Linked DNA regions of Homo sapiens: regions 1, 2, 3, 5 and 6 are each linked to region 4. Evidence: promoter capture Hi-C in human tissues and cell types (Jung and others, 2019). All regions are on one chromosome and are shown on one strand. Each heading gives the region's core, a stretch centred on a gene start or on the middle of the fragment in contact. The rest is flanking DNA. Distances are from core to core; before and after follow the strand shown.

What was found. Contacts are between HindIII fragments. The study calls those that stand out against the background at their distance.
Region 1: a contact is called between a fragment that was not itself captured here and the fragment with the promoter of CASP3 in region 4, in 3 of the 25 tissues and cell types used here (IMR-90 fibroblasts, hippocampus and spleen).
Region 2: a contact is called between a fragment that was not itself captured here and the fragment with the promoter of CASP3 in region 4, in 6 of the 25 tissues and cell types used here (IMR-90 fibroblasts, bladder, dorsolateral prefrontal cortex and 3 more).
Region 3: a contact is called between a fragment that was not itself captured here and the fragment with the promoter of CASP3 in region 4, in 2 of the 25 tissues and cell types used here (lymphoblastoid cells and small bowel).
Region 5: a contact is called between a fragment that was not itself captured here and the fragment with the promoter of CASP3 in region 4, in 1 of the 25 tissues and cell types used here (lymphoblastoid cells).
Region 6: a contact is called between a fragment that was not itself captured here and the fragment with the promoter of CASP3 in region 4, in 1 of the 25 tissues and cell types used here (liver).

The regions. Positions count from the first base shown.
Region 1 is chr4:184,804,605-184,807,413 of GRCh38, forward strand. The region is part of intron 1 of ACSL1 (acyl-CoA synthetase long chain family member 1); the gene reads right to left. Among named protein-coding and RNA genes, the nearest start is that of ACSL1, 20 kb to the right of the region's middle. The HindIII fragment of the contact is 5,427 bases long and covers 1-2,809 here.
Region 2 is chr4:184,513,949-184,516,922 of GRCh38, forward strand. All of the region lies in intron 1 of LINC02427 (long intergenic non-protein coding RNA 2427), which reads right to left. Among named protein-coding and RNA genes, the nearest start is that of LINC02427, 22 kb to the right of the region's middle. RefSeq lists enhancers at 350-439, 490-559, 570-729. The HindIII fragment of the contact is 4,259 bases long and covers 1-2,974 here.
Region 3 is chr4:184,852,789-184,855,790 of GRCh38, forward strand. It overlaps MIR3945HG (MIR3945 host gene), which reads right to left and starts at 2,864. Exons shown (of 3, transcript NR_132989.1): 1 at 2,681-2,864. The HindIII fragment of the contact is 4,150 bases long and covers 1-3,002 here.
Region 4 is chr4:184,648,120-184,651,120 of GRCh38, forward strand. It overlaps CASP3 (caspase 3), which reads right to left and starts at 1,328. Exons shown (of 8, transcript NM_004346.4): 1 at 1,276-1,328; 2 at 346-512. It overlaps PRIMPOL (primase and DNA directed polymerase), which reads left to right and starts at 1,619. Exons shown (of 14, transcript NM_152683.4): 1 at 1,619-1,789. RefSeq lists silencers at 836-1,045, 1,056-1,635. The HindIII fragment of the contact is 11,001 bases long and covers 1-3,001 here.
Region 5 is chr4:184,496,126-184,499,108 of GRCh38, forward strand. No RefSeq gene overlaps it. Among named protein-coding and RNA genes, the nearest start is that of IRF2-DT, 23 kb to the left of the region's middle. The HindIII fragment of the contact is 5,525 bases long and covers 1-2,983 here.
Region 6 is chr4:184,787,443-184,790,142 of GRCh38, forward strand. It overlaps ACSL1 (acyl-CoA synthetase long chain family member 1), which reads right to left. Exons shown (of 21, transcript NM_001995.5): 3 at 1,175-1,289. Among named protein-coding and RNA genes, the nearest start is that of ACSL1, 37 kb to the right of the region's middle. The HindIII fragment of the contact is 5,273 bases long and covers 1-2,700 here.

The DNA of each region.
Region 1 (2,809 bases), core at 251-2,750, 160 kb after region 4:
CCCTAGATGCTAGAGCCAAATTCTGCCTCCCTGGCATATGAGCTGTATGATTTGGGACATATGACCTCCCTTCCCTGTGCCTCAGTTTCCTCATCTGTAAATGGAGACGGAAATAGCACCTTATCTCGCAGGGCTTTTCTGACTGCTAAATGACTCACATAAAGAGGTAAGAATGATCTCACACACGTTAGAAAGTGCTCAAAAATATTAGATTTTATGATTATTTCCTCTACCAACGCTCTGTGATTCATCCTGAGTGCAGAACAAGTAAAGCACGCAGGTAAAAACACTGCCTACAAGGAGTGTTCAGACAAAATTAAGAAGCTTCTGCACAGCAAAAGAAACTACCATCAGAGTGAACAGGCAACCTACAGAATGGGAGAAAATTTTTGCAATCTGTCCATCTGACAAAGGGCTAATATCCAGAATCTACAAAGAACCCAAACAAATTTACAAGAAAAAAAACAAAAATTTACAAGAAAAACAACAAACAAGTGGGCAAAGGATATGAACAGACACTTCTCAAAAGAAGACATTTATGCCACCAACAGACACGTGAAAAAATGCTCATCATCACTGGTCATCAGAGAAATGCATTGTGGTTTTGATTTGCATCTCTTTTTCTTTGTTAAAATACAGAAATTTTCTGCTAAAATTTAAATTTAAATGAAATTAATTTTAAATTTAATGGTCTCTGTTTTACAGGCCATTAATACTACCAGAACCAACATAATGTATTTGCTCTGCTCATTCAATCTCTGCTACAATGAATCCATGTAAGTGTACTCACTCACACACACACACACAAACACACACACGAAATTTCAAGGTTTACCATGACAGCAAAGAAAGAACAGATAAGCAGATTTCTTCAGGCCATGGTTCTGGAAAGAAGGCACCAGCACTTAACAAAACCACTCACCATCTGTGCCACCAACAGCTGACTACTAGGTGACACCCCACTGCAGACACAGAAGAGGGCAATGAGCCTGGAAGTGGGCGGGGGTTAGCAGGGCTCAGCTGCGCTCCCCCAGCCTACCAAGGTCTCTCAGGGCACAAGTCACATGCCGAGCCCCACGCTGCTGCCCACTGGGCTAAAGGTAACTAGCAGACAAAATCCACACTTGACTTCTCAGGAGAGCAGAGGGTGGAGGATAGGCCAATGGGCAGCCAGCAGCAAAGTCACCCCACTGCTCCACCCATGGGCAGGGACAGGCATCAGTGAGTGTTGCTGCCAGGACCGGTTCTGAAAACAGACACTGTTTTCTTTCTGCTCAGCTTCCCAATAAGAGACAACGGGCATATATTTTTTAAACCACTGAAATGAAGGATAGGATGCCGGGTGGTATGTCTAACCAAGGTAAGGCATACCAAGAAAGAAACAGATTGCCCAGAGCATGCTGACAGCAGATTTATTCTAGACGAATACATAGGAATTGAGCTACTCCCGTCACTGCATATCTGAGCACCTAGTGTGAGCCAGGCTTTGGCCAGGCGCTGGGAAGACAGTGTTGATGACCTGGTCTAGGCTTTCAGTGGGCTAACCTTCTAGCAGGGAAGATAAAAATCAAACAAGCAAGGTCTGCAAGGCACGGGGGAAGGCCTTTCTGAGGAAGGGATGTACACCAGGCGGGATAAGCAGACAAATCAAGTCCATGTCCTATTGACACTGAGTGTTCAGATTTCAGAAACAGTATTGCAACTCCACAACCTCAAAGCAGCCTTGGGAATATAATGTGCAAACTTGCCTTGCCCTCAAATCCTTCCACCTCTAGTTGTCTTCATCACCCTGCAGCACTCCAGGCCTGAATAGGAAGTACTCACCCCGACACACACTGCCATGCCTTTCTCTCTTCTCTCCCCAAAGCTCCTAGAGTAACTCCCATAAAACCTAGATTGTGTGAATTTGCAGGTGCTGTTCAACAGGATCACATCCCTGAGTGAGAATCTTAAATAATTCCTCTGTAAACAAATACAGTCAGACACAGGGGATTAATTTGTCTATTTTAAGCATCAGCAGTAGCCATGCTATAGACTGCTTTACACCAAGAAAGTTTATTAAATCTAAGAAAGAACACTTTAAAAAAAAAACTTCAGAAAATTATATATTTAGTAGCATGTGTACAAGAACATTTCATTAGATACTAATCTATAATACTAAGGGTTTGAATCCAGCCAAATTCCTATATTTAGTGGGTGATAATGACAAACTATAGCAGTTTAATTCATGCCTCTTAAATGGCAGCCAGGTAACAAGCTGCAAGCCAACTTCACTGAACAAACTGATTAATGCTATACATAGGAAAACTATAGTCTATGCATAAAGAACTAAGACAATAGCTCATTTAGATATGTGTGAAGAACAACTCTTAAACAGACACTGATAGCATTATAAATCTTTTCCCTTCTATTAACTGCTATTAAGGAAAAGGCACTTGGGGTATTTAAAAATGGAGGTACACCTACATCCAAAGAAAATCAGGCACAAGAAATAGTCTTTCAACGCTGTATGTGAACATAAGCATTAGACTAAGGGGTCTCTAAGAAGGACTAAGACTCATACACTTGCTAACAAATGGTAAAACTCAGACAGATTGTATTCTTATTCCAGTAGTGTTCTGGTTTGAATATTTCTTTATTCTTTCAAAATCAAATTTCCATATAAACATCTAAGGAAATTTATAGCCTGGGCATGTAAATCATGCCGCTGTTTGCCAAAAATATAATTCAATTGGCTTAAAGGCTTAAGGAGCCAGTATTTCCCAGCTGGGAACACATAAGGCTACTGACAGCCAGCTTCTCCTTCCTC
Region 2 (2,974 bases), core at 1-2,500, 130 kb before region 4:
TCTGACATCTCTGAGCTTCTTTCCAGTGACATCACTCATCTTAGGGTGGTACGGATGAAACCCAACCACATTGCTTATGCCTCTTTTTTTAGCTTCTTTTTATTATGAACTCTTTCCTCCTAACACATTTAAGGGGGTGGTGCAAGCGTGTACATGTGAACTTTTGCTTGTTTGAATTGAGAAAATGACGAAGCATCAGGAATGTCCTAGTTTTGAATATGCAATATCAGCAGATCCTTCTGTGCAACTCTCCCAAAAAAGGGTGAGATTCTGTGTATGCATATGCCTACACCATCCTGGCAGCTCCTCCCCCAGGTCCCCCCTGTGAGCTCAGCCTAATGACTAGTCCTCAAAGATTGTCCCTGAGTGGAACTGAGATGTTAAGGTACATTTTCTAAATGTGGAATTTCCTATTCAGGACTTCCCAACTCATTCCTGTACCACCCCACTAGAAGGAGGATGGACAGATTCGCTTGCTGAAATGGCGAAGCAAGTTCCCGCAGCTGGCCAGGCTGAGCTGTTTCTGAAGCTCAGAGCAGCTGTGACTCATCCCTCCTGCAGTCCGTTAACTTCCCACTCCTGTCACCAGACCAGCTACTCCTCTCGCTCTGACTCCTACAAACCCACTTATTTTCAAATTTGCTCAATAACCATGACATTCAAACCCAACATGCTCTGTGCACAGGACGCTGTGAAAACACACAGTGAGAATTAAGGGTCCACAGAAGAAATAATGGCCAGAGTAAGAACTGTTTTCTTGGATGCTGGGTGATGAGGAATAACTGCTAATAAGAGACAACAGCAAGTATTAGGACATGTGCCATCAGGCCCAATTGAGTTAAGGGAATGCAGTCATCCTAACTGGTGGTTTTCAGAAAGCCACACAACATTTTAATTGAATGCACAGGCTTCTGCATGATTAGGAACACAATACTTTGGTGCCCAGGCCGGATTGAGCTGGTAACAATGAGCTGAAATGGCTTCCTGCCATGAAGCAGAGAAGCTCAAGCTTATTCTCCCTGTGACACTTCCAGGCCCTGTTGCAAAGTCACAAAAGAAACTCAAGAAACCAATTTTCAGAGACGGTTTAGAGCTTTCCTGCATGGTTCCAACTACTCGTGTGATATAAAAATGGAATGACTGCAGAAGGAGGATTGCAGCTGGATTTCGGGGAAACTTTCTGAAGAATGGACAAGAGGAACCAGCAGCCTGGTGCAAAGTCACTGAATCAAGTAGCAAGTAGCACCAACTCCTCCCATCCTCCCATCAGACAGCATGAATTTAAAGTGGTCTCCAGTCATGCAGCCATTTCACAGAGTTTGCATCTTAAGCCCACCTAAGATATTGTCAATAAGATATTGTCTTGAATTCCCAGCCAGAGTCCAGGGAATCCAGAAGTTTCCAAAACTTTGAAAATAGGAAATATTCAACAGAGTTATTCAGCAAATATTTGTTCAGCGCCTACCACATTCCAGTCACTAATAATTGGCATGGATATCAGCCCAATAAAATTAACCATTGGACTATCATTGGGAACCCCCGAGAGACATATTCAACACGAGCCTGAATTAAAAATACAACTAAATTTCTATATTGTGATTTTTAAAATGTGTTTGCTTTAAAAGTTCAATCAAAATGGGCCTTTCACTTTAAACTCAGCTCTGGACATCTCTATGCAACTCTCTGTGGAAGGTTCACCGAGATGTCCCTCAGAGCAGCTCTTTCATCTCAGCATGTTTATACATGAACTCATTGTCTTTCCTCCAAATTTGTATGTCAGTTGGTGGCACTCAATCACCCAAGTCAGGACCTGTGAATCACCCTTGCCCCCTTCTACTCCCTTACACTCAAGATCCAATCAATCACCACATCCTATCACTTTTACCCCATAGACACAACTCCAACAATATAATAGCCTCTTCTGTAGACACTGTAGTAGGCGCACCACAGATGGGCACTATTGTTATCATGTGCATTTTACGGATAAATAAACATGGCTGCAGGGGTTAAATAACTTCCCTAAGATCACACAATCAGTATATGGCAAAGCTAAAAATCAAGCTTGGCTGGGCACGGTGGCTCATGCCTGTAATCTCAGCACTTTGGGAAGCTGAGATGGGTAGATCACGTGAGGTCAGGAGTCCAAGACCAGCCTGACCGACATAGTGAAACCCCATCTCTACTAAAAATACAAAAATTAGCCAGGCGTGCTGGTGCATGCCTATAATCCCAGCTACTAGGGAGGTTGAGGCAGAAGAATCACTTGAACCAGGGAGGCGGAGGTTGCAGTGAGCCGAGATTGCACCACTACACTCCAGCCTGGGCAACAAGAGGGAAACTCCATCTCAAAATAAATAAATAAATAATAAAAAATAAATAATAAATAAAAATCAAGCTCAAGTCCTTCTGAATTTAAAGAGGAGGATTTTGAAGCTCTGTGTCTCTAATTCAGCAATCTCTGCCCTAATGTAAACCTCATTCTTTCTTCAGTCTCCTTACTGGTTCCTCTGCCCACTGCCTTCACTTTTTTTAGCGGCTTTTCTACATTTATAATGTTTTGTTTTTGTTTCTGTTTTTGTTTTGAGCCAGAGTCTCACTCTGTCACCAGGCTGGAGTGCAGCGGCACAATCTCGGCTCACTGTAACCTCCGCCTCCCAGGTTCAAGGGATTCCCCTGCCTCAGTCTCCCGAGTAGCTGGGACTACAGGCATGTGCCACTATGCCCAGCTACTATTTTGTATTTTAGTAGAGATGGGGTTTCACTATATTGGCCAGGATAGTCTCCATCTCCTGATGTCACGATCCGCCCACCTCAGCCTCCCAAAATGCTGGGATTACAGGCATGAGCCACCTCGCCCGGCCCGTTTGTTATGTTTTTTAAAGTCGAGTTTATATGGGTATAATATACAAAAGTAAAATTCACTCCTTTTAAGTATAGTTTGACAAGTTTTGACAAATGCATATGGTTGTGTAAC
Region 3 (3,002 bases), core at 160-2,659, 200 kb after region 4:
TCCTAGTCCTCAATCTTTTCTCCCCACAGCAGCCCTGGGCACAGTAGACCTCCCTAGCCTTTTGAGGAACCTCTTCTGTTACCTGACTGCTGTGGTCTACGTGACCATCTTACCTCTTCCTCTGCATTTTCCTTGTGTCTGTCACTGACTCTCTCCCGTGTCCCGCTCCCCAACTGTGGGTGCCCCAGATGTGTCAATCCTCATTCTCCGATCTTCTCTCTTTATACTAGATTCTAATTCACCTTTATTCATCTATACTCCCAGAGTCAAGTTTTGATTATGTATATATAACCAAATGGCATATAACTCTATCTATCTATCTATCTATCTATCTATCTATCTATGCCATCTCATTTCATGTCTTCACGAAATATCTGTTAGCTGTTTTTCTCCAGATTATCATCCTTCCTTAAGTGCTGTTGTGGTAGCAGTGGTGGTGGTAGTAGCAGTAGTAACAGCAACAACCTCTATCATATAGTAAATGCTAACTATATCTCAGGTGCTTTAGTAAAATCTCATTTAAGCCTTTCAATGTTATACATTGATATTGCTGTTGAACACATTTTATAGAGGAGGAAACAATCTCAGCAGGTTTAACGGTGGTTCCCAGTCACACAGCTAACACAGAACACGGCCTTGAACTCAGATTTTGTCTGACTAAAGTTTGTCATCCTATTTCTGTGCTAAAGCTTCTACAGCAGTCCCTGTTGCTTACCAGGTGAGGCCCAGCATCCTCACGGACCATCCCGGATCTCCGTAACGTAGCTCCACTGATCTGCTCCAGTGACTGCCTTCTGCTCCCAGAGTGGCACCTCCTTAACCACCCTCACCTTCCTACGCAGTGAATGAAGTGCAGACATGAATCCTGAGTCTGCCATTTAGTACTTCTCTAAAACTGACTTCTTGTATTTGTAAAATACCCGCCTCACAATCTCAGGATTGCTGTGAGCATCGTATATAATGAGTGCAAAGGGCCCGGCATAGTGCAAGGGACATGATAGGTGCATAACGAATAGGACCCACTGAGGCTGTTACTCATATTTCTGCTCTTGTGCCTTGTTCGTGTTATTCTCTACATATGAAATGTTTGTACTTCCTATTGCTCTGGCCTGACAGTCCTTAAGGGCTAAATTCCATCTTTACTAAATGTTTCCTTGGCTCTAACACACATTGATCTCTCCCCTCCCCAATTCTGAATGCACTTTCTTTTTTCTTTTTTTTTTTTTTGAGACAGAGTCTCGCTCTGTCGCCCAGCCTGGAGTGCAGTGGCGCGATCTCGGCTCACTGCAAGCTCCGCCTCCCGGGTTCATGCCATTCTCCTGCCTCAGCCTCCCGAGTAGCTGGGACTACAGGCGCCCACCACCACGCCCAGCTAATTTTTTGCATTTTTAGTAGAGACGGGGTTTCACCGTGTTAGCCAGGATGGTCTCGATCTCCTGACCTCGTGATCTGCCCGCCTCGGCCTCCCAAAGTGCTGGGATTACAGGCGTGAGCCACCGTGCCCGGCCCTCTGAATGCACTTTCTATATACACCAGGTGGCTGGTGTTATCTACTGTCTTATTCTTGAATGGCTTTGGGTAAGCGAGCCTCATAAGTTACTGGTGAGCTTGCTTGTATTGCTTCTGTGCTCCTCTCAAAGCTACTGGCACACTGTACCAAAGTGATTTGTTCATTGATTGATGGAGAAATGTAAACATTGGGACAAATCAGAGAGAAAAAAGGGCAAATTGGACATTATCTTGTTCGATTTCAGTTGGCAGTCAATGGTTTGTGTTCAAATTATCCTACAGAGGCTTGAACCAGGAGGGGAGGTTCAGAAAACAGATGGTGGGAAAGAGAACAGATCTCTGTATTATGGAGCTTTGACTTTAAAATTATTTCTCTTAAAGAAGAGATAGACCCAAAAGGAAATGATCTGAGATAAATTTCCAGGGACCAGTAAGACAGAAGTACCACTAAATATGAAGAGGCAGTGGACTGGGAATAATGAGAGAAGACCCAGGCAATCATGCCTGTAAGTTACGATAAAGAAAACAGGAAGCACATTTCGACAGAAAAACCATACTTTACATTAAAGAAGTGAGATTGTGTCTGTTGCAAGAGTGAGAGGGAAAGCCCGCAACGACCTCAGGGACCCAGTGAATTAGCTCACGGGAAGCCCAGGGCCTCTTTTGCTAGCTGCTAATGAAGGGAATTAGATAACCATGTTATTTTGAAAGAAAACAGATTATGTTTATTGAATGATCTAAAAGAAGCGAAAAGGGCTAGGTAAAGATGCCATGTTTTGGATTCTGATGTTGGGTCACACCAGGGCGCCCATTCTTCTGTATTCACAAAATGCCCAAATAGGGAGAGGTCTTGCCAGGCGCGTGAACTCGCCACTGTGGCTGAGCAACAAAGGTACATTGAAAGGAAGCGTGTGTGTTTGTGGCTTTGAGCCCCTTTTCCTATTCTGCTGAAGATTAGGAAATTATAGGTTATACTGCTTGAAATGAAGACAGAGTAAATGGTAGGAGGGTTGTAAATCACCTGCGAAGCACCGTCTTCGACCATGCCATATAGCAAGGCTACCCAAAACACTCCAGTCTCTAATTTGTTCAACTTAAAGAATAAGAGGGATATGTCAGTCAGGACCTGCTAACTGCTGTATCAGACAACCCCAGATCCCTAACGACTTACCTCACAGTCATCAGGGGCTAGACAAGTGACCTTCCACACGATAATTCAGAGATACTGCTCCTTTCCTGTAGTTCTCCAGTCCTCAGCACAGGGTCTCAAGATCATCTAGCATCGACCAGTCAGCAAATGTCGGAAGAGGAAAGATAGCTTCCTTAGTCCCTAAGAGACAGCATCTCGTTTTCACTACATTCCACTGGTGAGAACTACTCATATGGCCACACCTAGACACAGCGGTGACTGGAAAGTTAATTTGATTGTGTTTCCAGGAAAAGGAGATAGGCTTGGTGAGTCAGTCTCTCTAGAGGAAAATATGGAACTGGGT
Region 4 (3,001 bases), core at 78-2,577:
TGGGGGCACTCAGGACCCAACACACGCAGGGGTTTGTTAGCCATATTAAGTGCTGGGTTTAACCTAAGGGCAAAGGACGAGCTTTCTAGACTTTCATTTCATAAAGATCCCTCTGCCTGTGCTGTAAAAAGTGGACTGCAAAGGAGCAGGCGGGTCTGGAAGTGGAGAGACCAGGGAAGAGGCTGCTGTGGTCAGACGGCTGAAATCAGAGATAGAGAGACGCGGACAGATCTGGCAGACATTTACAAGGTCGACAAGGCTTGGCGACTAAGCAGGAAAAGAAGTGGGTGGGCGAGAGGGGGCTGCGAACGATGTTTTCCGGTTTCCTGCTTGGGTGCCACTTACTGAGAATGGGGGAAGAGGCAGGTGCAGGGCACACCCACCGAAAACCAGAGCGCCGAGTGTGAGCAGGGCTCGCTAACTCCTCACGGCCTGGGATTTCAAGGCGACGCCAACCAGCTGTGGCCACGGATACACAGCCACAGGTATGAGCTGCGAGCACTCACGAAACTCTGCAGGGCCGAAAAGGAATTGGAGTTTAAACCCTGCAACTATCTCTCTGGAAGAGCTAAACCACATTGTCAACCCGGGATAATCCAGGCCCCAGGCATGGAAGGCAGCAGAGACGGAAGCCTCGTCCAAAATTGGAAGGATCAGCCCCCAGGGCGAGTATCTCACAGTCAGCACCCGGCCGCCCCAGCCCTCGCAGCACCGCTTCCCGGGGCCACTCCTCCGCCGGCGGTAGCGCCGTCCGTTTCCCAGCTTGCCGCTGCCTTCCGCCGCCTGACCCGGCCTTCCGGCACTCGGCCGGCCGCCAGGTCTCCCGCCCTCGGAGCTCGGTGCCCCGTGCCCGACCTCCCGGCCCCGGGCTCGGTTCCCCTGGCCAGGCCTCCCGCTGCCTGGCCTCCCCGGCCCGGCCTCGCGCTGCCCGGCCTCCCCGGTCCCAGCCCAGCCTCCCGCCCCCGGGCCAGGTCTCCCCTCCGATGACCTGAGGCCTTTCCTTAGGTTACCCCCAGGTCCCTCTCCCTAAATCAAAAGCCTTAACCCGCTGCCTGGCTTCCCCGGCCCCGGCCCAGGCTCCCGCCTCCGGGCCAAGTCTCTCGCTCCGCGGGCTTCACTGCTCGCCCCCGCCCGGGCGAGGTGGCAAAACAAACACTCCGCCTTCCAGACCGGGCAGGTACCCGGGCGGGCGCAGGGCCTGGGAGAACGCAGGGAGCGGGGGCAGGGCTGACGGCCCGGAGCGAGGGCGGCAGTCACCGCACAGCCTCCTCATACCTTCTACAACCGCCTCACAATAGCACCCATCCGCTAGGAGCCGCGTCTGCACTGCTTCCGCGGCCCGCCGCCGGGAGATGTGCTCCAGCGCCAGCCCCGCCTCCCGCCCGCCCCTGTCGGCCCCTCGCGCCGCCTCCGCTGCGGCCCGTCCCCTAGCTCCCGCCCGCCCGAGAACCCAGCCCCAGGCTGGGCCCCAGGAGGCGCCCGCCCACCGCAGCGCGCCCCGCCCCCGCGCCCCGCGTCCTCACGCCCTGGTCCCGCCCTCGCGTCCCGCGCCAGTCCTCCCGCTTTGGTCCCGCCCTGAGGCTCGGCCCGGCTCCCCCGCCCCGGATTTGAAATCTAGGTCTTCCTGAGAGTCCGCGGGCTTCCGCTCCCAGCGCGGGATTCTGGAGGGAAATTGAGGGAGACTTGGAAACCGCGCCAGGCCCAACGGGTACCTAGAAGGGAGACAAAGCCAGGCCTGCTGCCCAGTTTGAGCTCTGGGAAGAAGAGGAGCAGGCCGGGACGCCCACCGGTAATTTCTGTCTCCTCTGCGATGACCTGAGGCCTTTCTTTGGGTTACCCTCAGGTCTCTCTCCCTAAATCAAAAGCCTTAACCTCCTGTCATCAGGGTGCCAGGCTAGAAATAACCAGGTCCACGCATGCTGTGTTTTCCACCATGTCAGGCTGCTGTGGACGCTCTTTCGATCACAAAAGCCACGAGCTGCGTGGAGTTCCCAAGGAGGCAGTTCTCAGCACTTGCTGGTCACTGGGTAGTCAGAGCCTGACACACAGGCTCAAGCCGCTCACGCATCATAGTAGTGTACTTAATCCACATATAAATGTTACAAGTTAAGCATCCCACAACAAAGTAGCATTTAACATCATGAGGAAAAAGAGATGGGGCAAAGAGATTAACGAACCAATCCAGAGGGAGTGAAGAAGAGGAAAAGAAGCCTGGTTTGGGCCGAGAGGTCCTTCTGCAAAGACGGCGTCAATTAAGCCGGCTGTTGGGAGCTGCCGAAGGCCCCATCTTTTATAGTCACAGAGTCCTGTGGTGAGAACTGGTAATGGAAGAGAGTGCTTGTTTGTGTCCTTACCTGGCTGGATGCGGACTATTTTTTTATTTGTTTATTAAAGTATAGTATGCTTGTTGGCAAATGCCTTATGAAATGTAAAAATGGGGTCTTCTCCTAAGATGGAGTTATTAATGGTTACGTCAATGGTGTGCTATATACACTGCCCTACCGATCCCCTTCCTATTTTGGGTCGTGAACTCATTTCAGACCCTGAAGCAAACTGTGAATCATTTTCGCAGAAGAATTCACCAACACATGTGAGCACGACATTCTGCATCAGATTTCAAAAAGTTCTTGACATTCAGAAGTCAGATTCAGGGACCCCATGGCAGAGCCTGTTTCTAACACTTGCGCCTATTCGACTATAGGGACTATATTCTGCACAGAAATATACTTAGTTTTATATATGGTTACCCCTTGCTGAGTTTATTGCATGCTTTTACATTTTCATAATACATTTGTTTGTTTCAGCCTTTCAACAATCCCTCGGGATAGGAATTCCAATTTAAAGAGGATAAGGTTTAAAGAGGTTAAGGCCGAGTTTAAAGAGGTTAAGTCCCGGCGCGGTGGCTCATGCCTGTAATCCCAGGACTTTGGGAGGCCGAGGCAGGTGGATCACGAGGTCAGGAGTTCGAGACCAGCCTGGTCAAGATGGTGAAACCCTGTCT
Region 5 (2,983 bases), core at 257-2,756, 150 kb before region 4:
TTTTGAATTGTAATCCCCAAAGTTGGAGGTGGGGCTTGGTAGGAGATGATTGGCTCATGGGGGTGGCTTCTCCTGGCTTAACACATCCCCCTTGGTGTTGTCCTAGCAATAGTGGGTGAGTGAGTTATTGTGAGATCTGGTCATTTAAAAATGTGTAGAACCTTTCCCCTCTCTCTCTTCCTCCTACTCCGGCCATGTAAGATGTACTGCCTGCTTCCTCATTGCCTTCCACCATGACTGAAAGTTTCCTGAGACCTCCCTAGAAGACAAACAGATGCCAGATTCATGCTTCTTGTACAGCTTACAGAACCGTAAGCCAGTTAAACCTCTCTTCTTTATAAATTACCCAGTCTCTGGCATTTCTTTATAGCAAAGCAGATATACAGAGTATATCTTCACAATTTTTCTATAAATCTATGACTATTCTAAAATAAAACTTTATTCTTCACGATTCACTGGATAGGATTAGCAGAAAATTAGACAGAAAAGACACAGGGACAGAAACTCATAGTAATCGAATGTGTCCAAAATAAAGCACAGAACTTTTTTTTAAAAGACTGAAAGAAAAAATGCACAGAGACTGAGTGACTCTCGGGACAATGCAAAGCTGTCTGAAAAATATATATAACTGAAGTCTCAGAATGAGAAACAGAGGCCAGAGAAAAATATTTGAAGAAATAATGAACAAAATTTTTCCAAGTCTGATGAAAGTAATTAAGATCACAGATCCAAGAAACTCAACACACCATAAGCAAGGTAATCAAACAAATAAAAAACACAATAAGGCATATCATAATCAAATTTCTGAAAACTCATGATAAAGAGAAAAATTTTTAAAGCAGCCAGAGAAGAAAATAACATATTATATACAAGGAACAAAAATAAAGTTAACAGCAAACTTATCGGAATCTTGCAAGCCAAGACAATGGGATGACACTAGTTCATAATTAGATCCAGGAATTTAATTTTAAAAGCCCTGAACATACAACTTAGAACTTAATCAAAGAGGTAAGATTTGCATACTGGAAGCAATTAGGAAATGATTCCAGGGCAATGCATCAACTTGCATCTTATACGTAGACAAATTATGCCACTGATTTCCTAAAGTAACCTTTTGTCCAAGACAGAGTCCATAGTTGCAACAGGTTGAATGGTGACCCCCCCAAAATATATGTCCATGTCCTAACACCCAAAACCTGTGAATGCAATCTTCTATGGAAAAAAAAGAGTCTTTGCAGATATAATTCAATTAAGGATGTTAAGATGAGAAGATCATCCTGGATTACATGGGTGGGGGCCCTAAATCTAAGGACATTATGAGATAGAAGAGAAGACGCATACCCAGAGGAGAAGTCCATGTAAAGATGGAGGCAGGGATTGGAGTGATGCAGCCACAAGCCAAGGAACTGCAAGAGCCACCAGAAGCTGGACGAGGCAAGAAAGGATCCTCCCTAGAACCTTTGCAAGGATTAGGGCCTTTTACTGGCACCCTGATTTCAGATTTCTGGTCTCCAGAACAGTAAGAGAATAAATTCCTGTTTGTTTGTTTTTTTTAACCACCAAATTGTGGTAATCTTTTACAGCAGCCCTAGAAAACAAATACAATCAGTCATTCACCCTGAATCTCCCTGAATCTATGACCCCATAAGAAATTCAGCAAGTTAGATCAGGTTTGAAGCCAAGAATAAAGGTCATATTTATGCTTTTGCTGTGTACTTAACATTAATAACTAATGATTAAATGCTTTTATCTTTGTAAATACACAAAATGAAGTAGGTATAGAACCTATAAAGGGGTAAAGAACTCACAGCACAAGTCCCAGAGTCTGACGAGCGAGCAGGCCAGGCCTCTCTGCAGGGTGTTCACTCTACTCAGACTTAGGACATGTCACTTTCCCCTCTTGACCTCCATATTCAGATCTGGGCATAAGAGGAAGTGGGTAAAGACCCCTCTAGCTTTAACACTCCTCCAATACAGACAGAACTCTGAAACCAGAACAAGAAGCTGAGGAATGGTGAATGGAGCATTCTCACTGGCATGATGGAGGAACCTGCAGATCTGGCTATTAGGATGGTGTCTCGCCATGTCAATGCCTCTGCAGAATTGGATCCTAGCTTTCAAATCAGACTCAAAACTGATCTTTAGTGTTGGTGGGTTTGTGGGGTTTTTGTTGTTGTTGTTGTTGTTTGATTTTTTTTTTTTTTGAGACTGTTACTGACACAACAGCTTCTGGTGGAACTCTTTCACGGAGAGTATGGGGGCTTCTTTGGCCAAATTGGCCGAGTGCAGGTTCCATCTGCTTGGCAGCCTCTGTCTGGGCCACAGCGCGTCCACAGCATCCTGCTCTTCTACAGAGGTTTCTTCAGACATTGCAGTGTGTCTGGCCATGTCATTTGTCACCGGTGTAAAAACAACAGAGCCTGCAGCTGCTGGCTGAGTGCCTGCAGCAGAATCCTGCTCCTCACAGGTGCAGCTACAAGGCGCCCCTGCTCCTTCCAAGAAGACAGGCACAGGGACGGCCAGATCCTACTCTCTCAGCCACGGCAGTCTGTGTGGGCAGCAGGCCCGAGCTCTACCCCAGGACCTTCTTCTCGACTTCCCTTCCCCCAATTCCCACCAGGCAGTAGCACAGCTTCTCTGGCACGACTGGGGACTGGGCGCAGGGAGGGGAGGGGTGGCCAAGGGCCTGAGGCAGGTGGGCGGCCTGTGGCCCCCGAAGGACACCTGCTTTGGCTAAGACGCCTCCTAGGGCTGCCCCAGCCTGGCTCCAGGCCTCAGCCTCTGCTGCCTCCAGGAGCCCCAAAAAGTTGTTTCAAGAAGGGATGAGACAATGCTGAAGATGAAGCCCACAGCAGCAGACCATTCACATCAATTTGCAAGGAAAAAAAAAGTCTTGTTCATGCCCCCAATTAAAGGGGACTGTCAATTAACAGCAGAAACAATAGCTAACACTACAGACATCACAATTGGTTCAGCTTACACA
Region 6 (2,700 bases), core at 20-2,519, 140 kb after region 4:
AGGTAGGGGATGAAAATGATAGACTAGGAAGGTTTTAGAGAAAAGGTGAAATGCAGTGAGTTTTGTAAGATTAAAGAATACATCAAGCACCCAGGCTGGGGGTAGAAAGAGGCTTTATGATCAAGAAAAAAAAGTGCATGGCCGGGCATGGTGACTCGCGCCTGTAATTCCAGCACTTTGGGAGGCCGAGGTGGGTGGATCACCTGAGATTAGGAGTTTGAGACCAGCCTGACCAACATGGAGAAACCCCATCTCTATTAAAAAATACAAAATTAGCTGGGCGTGGTGGTGCATGCCTGTAATCCCAGCTACTCAGGAGGCTGAGGCAGGAGAATCACTTGAACCCAGGAGGTGTAGGCTGCGGTGAGCCAAGATCATGCCATTGCACTCCAGCCTGGGCAACAAGAGCAAAACTCCGTCCAAAGAAAAAAAAAAGTGCACAAGTCTGGGCATGGTGGCTCACACCTGTAGTCCCAGTGCTTTGGGAGGCTGAGGCAGGAGACTCACTTGAGGTCAGAAGTTTGAGTCCAGCCTGGGCAACATAGCAAGACCCCATTTCTAAAAAGCAAAATAGAACTGCACAAAGCCTCAGGGCTGGGAGAGAGCAGAGGTAGTCGTGGCTCTGCAGGAAGTTCAGTATGACCTGAGGGCCCTATACAGGAGGCCTGGGAGGGACAGAGGCTGGAAAGGAGGTATGCTGGATATCACAGGGTTTCTTACACTACAGTTAATAATTAAGGGTAATCCCATGAGCCAACATTTCCCAAGTATCTTTAACAGAACACTGCCATCCTGGGATGTCAGTATTTCTTTCTCAAAATATGGGTCTCATGGTCAAGTAAGCATGAAAAATGCCGGATTGGGCCCAGTTCAACAGACCTCTTTATTGCAGGAAACGTCAGAGCCTATTGTGCACTGGTGTAACATGTGACTCACCATAAAATACAGGATGTGACACTCACATATTTGACCATGGAGCCCCCAGGGCCACAGGGAACATCTAGAGGGTCCAGTGAGCTTTGGGACCGACTCTGGGAAAGTTACAGTGGACACAGAGGGGCCTGAGCGATCCTAAGGAGGCGAAAGATAGGAGCAAATGTGCATTTCTGAAAGGCCACTCGTTCTTCATGAAACACGGCGAGCGGGAGCCACGCAAATGCAGGAAAATGCTTACTTGACACCTGTATTCCCCTCTGGAAACCTTCGTATAATGTTGTGACATCATCATAGAAATACACCAAGGGCTCGTCGCTGTCAAGTAGTGCGGATCTTCGTGCACCACCACTACCCTATCAAAAAAGAAAGGGGGGCAGGTTAGAAGGCAGTGAAACATCTATGCACTGTGGAATGGCTAAATCAAGCTAATTAACATATCCATTCCTTTACATTCTTGTCACTTATCTGTAGTGAGAACACTTAAAATCTATTCTCTTAGTAATTTCAGGTATATGGTACATTGTTATTAACTACAGTCACCAACTAATAGTGAACATGGTCACCATTTTTATTAAAAATAGATGTCCTGAACTCGTTCCTATTATACACCATAAATACACATAATTTGTATTTGTCCATTAAAAAATAAAATGCTTAAAAATTAAATATAAAGTCTAATATGCCCCTGTGGTATCCGCACCCCTCTAGGCGGCCACCTGCGGAACAGCTGCCCAGTGAGTGAGTGCTGAAAGACTGCAGTGCAAGATGTGCTGATGTAAACCAATCATTCGCCTGGAGGTAAACACAGGCTTCGGGGAACCACGGCTAAGTCAGAAAGATGCCTGAAGAGAGAAAACAGGTTTACAGACCTACAAGTGCTGGTCCTGCCGGATAAGGCCAAAGAGAGCAAGAGAAGAGCCACAAACTGCCACCACTACACACATTGACAGTTCTCAAGCCACTGCCATCCACAGCACAGAGGACTGATCCTGTTCAGCTCTGGTGGAAATGAAACCCCATTTGGTTATACTTCTAAAATGTTACCTATATTCTTTTTGAGACTATTTCCACTATTTTATCTCCTCACCAAGCGCAATATCATCTGTTAGAAACTTCACTTTCTTGCATAGCATCTCTAACAGTTAAAATCATCAGCTACAAAACATATGCATGTGCAGACACAGGTCTTTATTAGTTTTAGGTGCAACATTTATAGGTGTGCAGATTTGACATCGCTGTGCACCTTTCTCTAAGTCGTCTTCATCTGTTAGCTTCCTGAGTATATTTGCTATGTGCAAGAACTCCTAATGATGGATAAGGCGGCAGGGCCTAGCCTCCCACAGTAGCAGCAGTAGTCTTTACAGGTAGCAGGTCTCCAATGTGAGCTGCTGAGTCCTCTGGGGCCAAAGGACACTGTAAGGCATCCAGACATCCACAGAAAGCCAAAAAGCAGTCTTTAGAGACTGATAAATAAAAGCTCAGTGACTATGACGTTAGAGCCTACCTTTTTTTTTTTTTTTAATTTCAGAGAGGGGCCTTCACTTTTACAACAGTCTGGAAACCCTTGGAGAAATTAGACTGTGATATGATAACCTCTGGTACCAAGAGGAGAGAGCTGTCCAAAAGTGGAAGAGATCGTTTCTGGCTTAAGGTGTGATGAAACAAAACAGGAGACACCAAAAAGAAGTGTGGAAAAGCTAGGTCTCAGAGTAGGGCGGCAGGCTGAGGAGGGCCGCGCTGAGGAGGAAGTGGATGGGTGCCAGG